Linked DNA regions of Homo sapiens: region 1 is linked to region 2. Evidence: promoter capture Hi-C in 16 types of primary human blood cells and fetal thymus (Javierre and others, 2016). All regions are on one chromosome and are shown on one strand. The core of a region is centred on a gene start or on the middle of the fragment in contact, and the rest is flanking DNA. Distances in the headings are between cores, read along the strand shown.

The links. Contacts are between HindIII fragments. The CHiCAGO score rates a contact against its expected background, and 5 or more counts as called.
Region 1: a fragment that was not itself captured here is called in contact with the fragment with the promoter of GUCY2D in region 2 in 11 of 17 cell types (activated CD4 T cells, total CD8 T cells, erythroblasts and 8 more); the score reaches 11.1 in activated CD4 T cells.

What each region holds. Positions count from the first base shown.
Region 1 is chr17:7,780,173-7,785,096 of GRCh38, forward strand. DNAH2 (dynein axonemal heavy chain 2) reads left to right here. Exons shown (of 86, transcript NM_020877.5): 37 at 1-112; 38 at 458-610; 39 at 870-995. Among named protein-coding and RNA genes, the nearest start is that of KDM6B, 52 kb to the right of the region's middle. The HindIII fragment of the contact is 1,534 bases long and covers 2,247-3,780 here.
Region 2 is chr17:7,999,786-8,004,884 of GRCh38, forward strand. GUCY2D (guanylate cyclase 2D, retinal) reads left to right here and starts at 2,830. Exons shown (of 20, transcript NM_000180.4): 1 at 2,830-2,949; 2 at 3,254-3,983; 3 at 4,067-4,371. The coding sequence starts at 3,263. The HindIII fragment of the contact is 12,410 bases long and covers 1-5,099 here.

The DNA.
Region 1 (4,924 bases), core at 1,764-4,263, 220 kb before region 2:
AGAGCTTCCCGAAAATCTTAAATCCATGTTCCGCCCAATTGCCATGGTGGTGCCTGACTCCACCCTCATTGCAGAAATCATTCTCTTTGGAGAGGGCTTTGGCAACTGCAAGGTACTCCAATAACCCCTTTTCTCCAGTGATTTTAATTTCCTTTCATAATTATTCCCTGGACAGAGGAGCTCCCCAAGGGCCTCACAATCAGCTTATCCTCTAAGGAACTTAGACTATTGTCAGTAGGATGTGTGGGGAGAAAAATTTAGGGGAGGGAGGTGTCTCCTCCGTGATATCACTAACTGACAATGGCGTCATTCACACAATTTCCTCAGGAGAATCCATAGAGTGCCTCCTAGCTGCTTCATGTCCTGGGACCTGGCTTCTTGTCTCTGACTGTCCTGAGATGAAGCAGAGGGATTTGTGGGGAGATGGACTGTTTCCTCCTCTGTTTTGGTTCCCCAGATTCTGGCCAAGAAGGTGTACACACTCTACTCACTGGCTGTGCAGCAGCTGTCCAGACAGGACCACTATGACTTTGGCCTGCGTGCCCTCACCTCCCTTCTGCGCTATGCTGGCAAGAAGCGCCGCCTACAGCCGGATCTGACTGATGAAGAGGTAGAGCAAGGACACAGCCTTTGGACCTGACTTCCACTGTCACTGGACCTATGTCACTTCTCTCAAGTCTTTCAGACCCTTTCTTTCCTCAGATTGGGATTCTCACCTTCCCACCTCGTCCCATCCCCGTGTTGCCCGCTGCTTTGCTAATGGCTAACTGGTGTATCCATTGTTCTTGGCACGTGCCCCGAAGCCCTTTGGAGGTGAAAGGCCTAGGCCCTGCCTCCTCAAGCCTGAGTCTCTGTCTTTTCCCATTCAGGTTCTGCTGCTCTCAATGAGAGATATGAACATCGCCAAGCTCACTTCAGTTGATGCACCCCTGTTCAATGCCATCGTGCAAGATCTGTTTCCCAACATTGAGCTGCCTGTCATTGACTATGGCAAGGTATTTGTTCCTTAATACTCTCCCTGACCGGGTGCTGTGGCTCATGGTTGTAATCCCAGCACTTTGGGAGGCCGAGGTGGGCAGACTGTTTGAGTCCAGGAGTTTGAGACTAGCCTGGGCAACATGGTGAAACCCTGTATCTACAAAAAGTACAAAAATTAGCCAGGCATGGTGGTGCACACGAGTGTAGTCCCAGCTACTCGGGAGGCTGAGGTAGGAGGATTGCTTGAGCCCCAGGAGATTGAGGCTATAATGAGCTGAGATTGTGCCTCTGCACTCCAGCCTGGGTGACAGAGCAAGACCGTGTCTCAAAAAACAAAACAAAAACAAAAAAACCGCACTCTCCCTGACCACATATGTGAATATGCATCTGGGAATAGAAAACTTGGCTTCCAGTCCTTGTTCTGCCATCTACTAGCTATGACTCTGAACAAGTCAATTGACCTCTCTTTGGACTTCCTTATCTATAAAGCAATAGACTATTCAAACATTCTGCTCTCTGACCACAACTCCCTCCTCCGCTGACCTACTCAAGTGTACCTGCTCAAGTGCATCCATGCAGCAACGCTCTGACTTCATTGAAACCTCTAGTCCGTTGCCTTTGCACTTTCTCCGTGCCCATCAGTCCTCCATGCCTCTACTTCTCACCTCATCAGGGAGTTTTGAGGAGGGGCTGCTAGAAGCCATTTGGTATCAGAGAGCAGCAGAATGGAAGAGGGAGTTTTAGAAAGCATAAGAACTTTCTTCTCTGGCAGTGTGGTAGTCTAGATACCCTGAATGATCCTTTCAATTGAAACTACTAAAATGATGGATAAAAATATAATAATAACATCCTTTTTAATGCATTGCTAAGCTGGCAAGAAAGGAAGAATTCCAGGAGTTGAGGAGGGTAGGGAGTAAAAGCAGGAACCCTGGGAGGCAGGTAAGTACCAAAGCTGGCCTTCTCCCTGAAAACTGTTGTTGATCTTAAGGCAGTGAGGATAGGAGATGAAACAACCCAAGTCTGAAGATATAACAGAAGATGCAGTGCTGCATAAACCCCAGTCCCCAAGGGGCAACATCCCCAGTAGATGGAAAAACGAGAAGTCTGAGATTTAGAAGCGTATATACAGGAAAGAAACTTGCTTGTTTTGACCTCTGATGATGGAAGAAAAAGACCAAATTTTCTTTGAGATTTCCTAACCACACACCAGCTCTCACATGGTTTCCAGTCATCATTTATCCTACTGTGTAATCAGAAAAGAAATCTCAAGCTTAGATTTCAATATTAAGTAGTTCTAGGTTGTTAGTGCCCCCAGGTGACTGGAAGAAGCAAAAGCAAATTATTTCTGGAGGAATGAAATTTCAACTCACACTTCAAAGAAGTGCCACAGGTAAAAGTCCAAGAAAATGAGCAACTCATGGTCAAAAATCACAAAACACACAAGGAAACAAGAAACCATGAATGGGAGCCAGAAGAACAACAGACAGTGGAATCAGATCCATGAAAACTTACTTCAGATATTGAAACTGATAGGGGCGAGGTGCGGTGGTTCACGCCTGTCATCTCAACACTTTGGAGGCTGAGGCAACAGGATCACTTTAGGCTAGGAGTTCAAGACCAGCCTGGGTAACATAGCAAGACCTCCATCTCTTAAAAAAAAAAATAGCCACACATGGAGGTGTGCTCCTGTAGTCACAACTACTTTCTCCAAAAGCTACTAGAAAAACGTGCTCTACTTAAACACAGGAACACATCGTGAAAAGGACGATGGGAAACAAAAGATTTGGTGCAAGGGGGAGGCTACAGTAATCCTCGGGGTGTTGGTGAATGGAGGTCACAGGATGATGGTGGTGCACTGGGCAAAGAGAGAAGCCAATCCAGACTGGAGCAAACCTGAAGTCTTCAGGAGGACTGTTTTTTTGTTTTGTTTTGTTTTGTTTTTTTGAGATGGAGTTTCACTCTTGTTGCCCAGGCTGGAGTGCAATGGCACAATCTTGGCTCACCGCAACCTCCGCCTCCCAGGTTCAAGCGATTCTCCTGCCTCAGCCTCCCGAGTAGCTAGGATTACAGGCATGCACCACCACACCCAGCTAATTTTGTATTTTTGGTAGAGACGGGGTTTCTCCATGTTGGTCAGGCTGGTCTCGAACTCCCGACCTCAGGTGATCCGCCTGCCTCAGCCTCCCAAAGTGCTGGAATTACAGGCATGAGCCACTGCGCCGGGCCAGGATGACTTTTTAAAGAAGAAATTGATACCCGATGTGAAAATTGTTTGAAAGATTTAGTCAACTGGTAGAGTTTGGAATTGAGTTAGAGATAAGCACATTAAAAACTAAGCAAACATGGGGGCAAAACAAAAACAAAAACAAAAACAAAACCCTAAGCAAACAGGCTGGACATGATGGCTCACACCTGTAATCCTAGCACTTTGGGAGGCATAAGCAGGTGGATTGCTTGAGGTGAGGAGTTTGAGACCAGCGTGGGCAACATGGTGAAAATGAGCCAGGTGTAATGGCTCATGCTTGTAGTCTCAGCTATTGGGAGGGCTGAGGCAGGAGGATTGTTTGAGCCCAGGAGGTGGAGATTGCAGTGGCTGAGATTGTGAGATTGTGCCACTCCAGCCTGGGTGACAGAGTGAGACCCTGTTTCCAAAAAAAAAAAAACAAAAAACAGAACCTAAGCAAACAAAAATCACAAAAACTATTAGATCCTAGGGAAAACAAAAAAAGTTGCCCAAGAAAGGAAAAGTAACCATACATTGTTATACTGATACTTTATAATGTTTACAAGAGACCCATCTAAAGCTTAATGACAAAGGGCTGAAAGTCAAAGAATAGAAAATGATGTTTTTTCTATTATTTGATAATTATTAGTAAATAATTAGTTTTAGTAAATACGAATCAAAAGAAAGCTAGGGTAGCAATATGGGACAACAGATTTTGAGCTAAAAAGCATTGCTAGAAATAGAGGGCTATTTCATAATAATAAAAGTTTCAACTCATCAGGAAGGTATAACAATTCTAGATTTTTGTGCATCTAATAATATAGTCTCAAAATAAGTAGAGCAAATTTTGCACAATTACAAGGAGAAAGAGACAAATCTAGTATCATAGTGGAGAGCTTAATATTTCTTAATTGATAGAGCAAACAGACTAAAAATCAGGATATAGAAGATTTGAAGAACACAATCAACAATCATGATTTAATGGATATCTATAGAAACTGGACTCAATAATTGGAGAATCGGCCAGGCATGTTGGCTCATGCCTGTAGCCCCAGGACTTTGGGAGGCCAAGGTGGGAGGATTACCTGAGGTCAGGACTTCAAGGCTGCATTGAGCCATGACTGTACCACTGCACTCCAGCCTGGGTGACAGAGTGAGACCTCAACTCAACTCAATAAAATAAAATAAATAATTGAAGCATAACCATATTTTTCAAGCACACATAGAAAATTGTTGGACCATGTAGGAAAAGGAAAATTGATGACTATGTAAAGGCCATAAATTTGCCTCAAAAATGTCAAAGGAAGATATTCAGACCACAGTTTCTGATCACAGTGATAACTCTACTGCTATCAGGCAAAGCAGACTTTATGGCAAGAAGCAATCGTAAAGGTGAAGAGTGACATTTCATAATGATAAAAGGATCAATACACAGAAAGTTATAAGAGTTCTAAATCTGTATGCACTAAATAATATAGCTACAAAATCCATAAAAGAAACTGGACAGAACCATAAGGAGAAACACATAAATCCACAGCCCTGGTGGGAGATCTTGACTTACTTCTTTTAGGAACAGATAATGCAAACAGACCAAAAAATCCATAAAGAGATGCATTTGAATGCTTTTAACAGACAGTGACAAAATAGAAAAAGCCCGAGTGTTTGGAAATTTGGCAATACAATTCTAAATAACTAATGGATCAAAGAAGAAATTAGAGAATT
Region 2 (5,099 bases), core at 1,580-4,079:
AAAATCCCTACATATAGCGATTGTTTACCACCAAAAACTAACAGATGTTAATATTTTGCCATATATATATATGATCCGCCAGCCTCTGCCTCCCAAAGTGCTGGGATTACAGGCATGAGCCACCATGCCCAGCCTATGTGTCTTGCTTAATAAATCCATTCCTACCCTGAATTGATAAAGATGTCTTTTCAATCTATGTCTTTTTTTCTCTTAAAAATTTCTGCTCTTTTTAAATTTTTCTATTTTCTTATTTTTTTTCTTTGTTCTTCAGAGCAGATCTACTTTCTTTGAATTCTATAATCTAAAATTTTTAATTAACTTTATTTGGAAATAATTTCAAACTTAAAAAATGTTGCAAAAATAAAAAATATGCAAAGAACACTCACAGGCTGTTTACCCAGATTCACCTATTGTTAGCATTTTACCCTATTTGTTTATCATTTGAAATAGATAATATATAAAACATACCATATATCATATCTAATATATATTTTTTCTGGACTGCTTGAGGGTCAGTTATATACATGATGCTTTACCATTAAATACTTCAGTGTGTATTTCCTATGAACAGGGATAGTCTAACATAACTACACTACCATTATTAACTTTATAACTTTATACTCTTTTGAATCTCCTGTGATATTCCAATTTTGTCAATTGCCAATTTTTTTGTTAATGTTGATGTTCTTTATAGCATTTTTATAACCCCATGCCGCCCTATAACCATTTTTCTTTTCTTTTTTTGTTTTTTGAGATGGAGTCTCACTTTGTTGCTTAGGCTGGAGTGCAGTGGCGCGATATTGGCTCACTGCAAACTCTGCTTCCCAGGTTCAGGTGATTCTCTTGCCTCAGCCTCCTGAGCAGCTGGGATTACAGGTGCACTCCACCACCCGCGGCTAATTTTTGTATTTTTAGTAGAGACGGGACTTCACCATGTTGGCCAGGCTGGTCTCAAACTCCTGACCTCAAGTGATCCGCCTGCCTCGGCCTCCCAAAGTGCTGGGATTATAGGCGTGAGCCACGGTGCCCGGCCTCAAGCCCTATAACCTTATAGCACTTTAAAAAAATCCAATGATACAGAATCCAAACTAAGGGCAGGTGTTGCATATAATTGTCATGTCTTTTTAGGTTTCTTTAATCTGAAACAGTTCCTCAACCTCTATTTGCCTTCTATGACATTGACATTTTTGAAGAATGCAGTCCTCCCCACCTTTTTAAATAGAACGTTTCTCATTTAGTGTTTATCTTATGTTTCCTTGTGATTAGATTTGAAATAATGCTGGAACATTGCCGAGACGTATTGTGCAGCACTGCATAGGTGTAGTATTATGTCCTTCTCAGGGTATCACATCTGGAGGCAAAGAATGTCTCTCTGCCCCTCATGGTTAATTTTGATCACTTGCTTAAAGTATTGCCCCATTTCTCCACTGTACAATGACTGCTTTTTATTTTATTCCCCACTCCCTTCCAACTCATGGCAATCTGGAGGGAGATACTTTCAGACCCTGCAAAAGTTCTGCTCCTCATCCAACATTTCCCCCAGCTTTAGAATCCACTGATGATTCTTACCTGATCCAATCTTTGCCACCAAGTCTGAAAATGATTCATTTAAAAGTTTTTAAGTTTTATTTTTCACATATAGGTCTTTGACCTGGAATAGATTTTGTGTATGGTGTGAGATAGGGATTGAATTCTATTTTCCCCCCAGATGGCTAATCAGCTCCATTTGTTGAAGTTTATTCTTTCCCAGTTGGTAAGAAATGTCCACGTCTTCACACATTTGCTGTGTTTGTTTCAGTACTGTATATTCTATTTCATTGGTCCATTTGTTTATCCTTGTGCCAAAACTATGAAGTCTTTATTGCCATAGCTTTATAATATATATTTATATAAATATATAATTGCTGTCACTACATAATGTGGATTTATATAAATATATAATATATAATTGCTATAGCTTTATAGTATATATTTATATAATTGCTGTTTTATATATCATATAATTATATAAATATATAATTGCTATGTTTTATATATTATATATTTATGTAGATATATAATTGCTATGTTTTATATATTATATATTTACATAAATACATAATTGCTATTGCTTTATAATAAATTTGTATATCTTATAGGGCATCTTCCATTATACTCTTCTCTAAAATTGTTAGCTATTCTTGCCATCCGGGCAATTATATTCATTTTCACAACAACCCTCAGATTAAGCAATTGCCCAAGGTCCAAAAATCAGCAAGAGGGACTTGGAACCCAGGTCTGTCGGAGGCCAAAGCTCTTTTCATTACTTCCTGAGGGTGGTTTTCTAGGCATGGAGAAGCAGAGGTCAGGGAATCAAGTGTGGCGAGAGAGAGAAGAGAAGTGAAAGAAGAAAGGCAGGTGTCAGCTTGGTGTGGGTTTGGTCTCTGGGATATAGACTTTGCCAGCCAAAGGATGGAGCTTGAACTTAGCTGGCAGAACTGGAAACAGAAGATTGTAAGGAAAGGGACTGGGATCAGTGTTTCTTCTCCAGGACGGATTACCCACAGCTGTCCACGGGCAGGCACTTGTTACTTTCTGGCTGAGCAGGGCAGTGTGGCCGACGGCTGAAAGGGGAAGCTGCGGCTGCTTTTGTGCAGGGGTGGTGGTGATGAGGGTGATGTGGGGGGCTGGAAGGCATGGAGGGGAAAGGATCTGGCTGACTACCTGGAAGCCAGGACAGATCCCACCCCAGAAAGGCGCAGTAGGGGCTCTCATCCTCCACTAGCCCGCCCCTCCCTACCTAATTAAGGACCCTAATCAGCTTGGGGAGATTAAGGGCTCTGGCCGGCTGTACCCACGCCCCCGCCCTGGCCTGGGCTGGCAAGGAAGACCTGTGGGCGGGCGTCAAAAGGGGGACCGGCCCTGTGACCCCTCACCGGGGGCCGTGGGCCCGAGCCCCCGGACTTCCCTGTAAATGTCAGAGGCCCCTCCGCTGGGATAGGGTCGGTCTGAGGGCGCAGGCGAGTCCCTGCTGACCCCTGACGCCTCCGACGGGGGGAGGGGCAGGCCGGGTGGGAGCGGGAAGCCGGGGCGGCAGAAGGGGGCTTCGGGGCGGTGTCCTTGGCCCCAGTTAGTCTTCCCAGCCTCCGGAGGGGGCGGTAGCAGCAGAATCATCCCATGGGTTACTCGGGCTTGGAGAAACTCGGGGTTACGGGGAGAACCCTAGGGGAGGCCGGGGTCTCAGTCGCTCAGCCTGCTCCGTCTGTGTTCGCAGAAGCCGGCAATGACCGCCTGCGCCCGCCGAGCGGGTGGGCTTCCGGACCCCGGGCTCTGCGGTCCCGCGTGGTGGGCTCCGTCCCTGCCCCGCCTCCCCCGGGCCCTGCCCCGGCTCCCGCTCCTGCTGCTCCTGCTTCTGCTGCAGCCCCCCGCCCTCTCCGCCGTGTTCACGGTGGGGGTCCTGGGCCCCTGGGCTTGCGACCCCATCTTCTCTCGGGCTCGCCCGGACCTGGCCGCCCGCCTGGCCGCCGCCCGCCTGAACCGCGACCCCGGCCTGGCAGGCGGTCCCCGCTTCGAGGTAGCGCTGCTGCCCGAGCCTTGCCGGACGCCGGGCTCGCTGGGGGCCGTGTCCTCCGCGCTGGCCCGCGTGTCGGGCCTCGTGGGTCCGGTGAACCCTGCGGCCTGCCGGCCAGCCGAGCTGCTCGCCGAAGAAGCCGGGATCGCGCTGGTGCCCTGGGGCTGCCCCTGGACGCAGGCGGAGGGCACCACGGCCCCTGCCGTGACCCCCGCCGCGGATGCCCTCTACGCCCTGCTTCGCGCATTCGGCTGGGCGCGCGTGGCCCTGGTCACCGCCCCCCAGGACCTGTGGGTGGAGGCGGGACGCTCACTGTCCACGGCACTCAGGGCCCGGGGCCTGCCTGTCGCCTCCGTGACTTCCATGGAGCCCTTGGACCTGTCTGGAGCCCGGGAGGCCCTGAGGAAGGTTCGGGACGGGCCCAGGGTCACAGGTAGGCTCCCTTGCAGGGTGCGAGGAGGTCGGCTGGTCCTGCCGGCAGCCGGACGGCGCCGCGAGCCAAGCCTCTGTCCGCAGCAGTGATCATGGTGATGCACTCGGTGCTGCTGGGTGGCGAGGAGCAGCGCTACCTCCTGGAGGCCGCAGAGGAGCTGGGCCTGACCGATGGCTCCCTGGTCTTCCTGCCCTTCGACACGATCCACTACGCCTTGTCCCCAGGCCCGGAGGCCTTGGCCGCACTCGCCAACAGCTCCCAGCTTCGCAGGGCCCACGATGCCGTGCTCACCCTCACGCGCCACTGTCCCTCTGAAGGCAGCGTGCTGGACAGCCTGCGCAGGGCTCAAGAGCGCCGCGAGCTGCCCTCTGACCTCAATCTGCAGCAGGTAGACGGTCCCGGGAGGAGGGAAGAAGGCAAGGGAGAGGGGAGAGGACAGCCAAAGCAGGGAGAGGAGGATGCAGCCAATGGAGAAAGAACCACTGGCAGCTCTAGCTGTTTGGAGTTTCCTGGGTAATGTAGAGGCTCTGGCCCCACTTGGGGTCTCTTAGTGTACGAGGATTGCCTCTAGAGAGTAGGCAATTCGACCTCTCAAGTCCAACATCAAGCAGTAAACTCTAATGAACTGTAAACTGCAAAACCTTTTGCAATTGGCTTCAAAGTAAACCCGTTTCCACCACCACATACTCCCAGCTGTCTAAAATAAATACTTGGTGTTCTTGAAAGCAGGAAGGAGGGAGGATGCCAATCCAACCTTCATCCCTAGTTCAGAGGTATTTCCTCTGGGGCCTCATCTGGTGGTCTTAGCTTTTCAAGGGCCTAGACACCTTGCAAGAAGCAGAAAGTTCCCTGGGTGGATTCAGGGGCAATCCTAACCAGATCCATAGTGTATTTCCAACATCCAGCTAATACCTAGGGATCCCCAAGTCCCCAGAATCCCAGTTCAGATCATCTAACTTTACTCCCGCCACAAAGGGGGACTAGAAACCACTATGAGAAGGGAATTTAGATGTCAACGGGCAGTGAATTAACCACCACAAAGGTCCAACTCACAGGCGGCTGCATGAGAGAAGGGTCGTAGGGGTTGCAATTTCCCATCGATGCCCCTAGATTCTT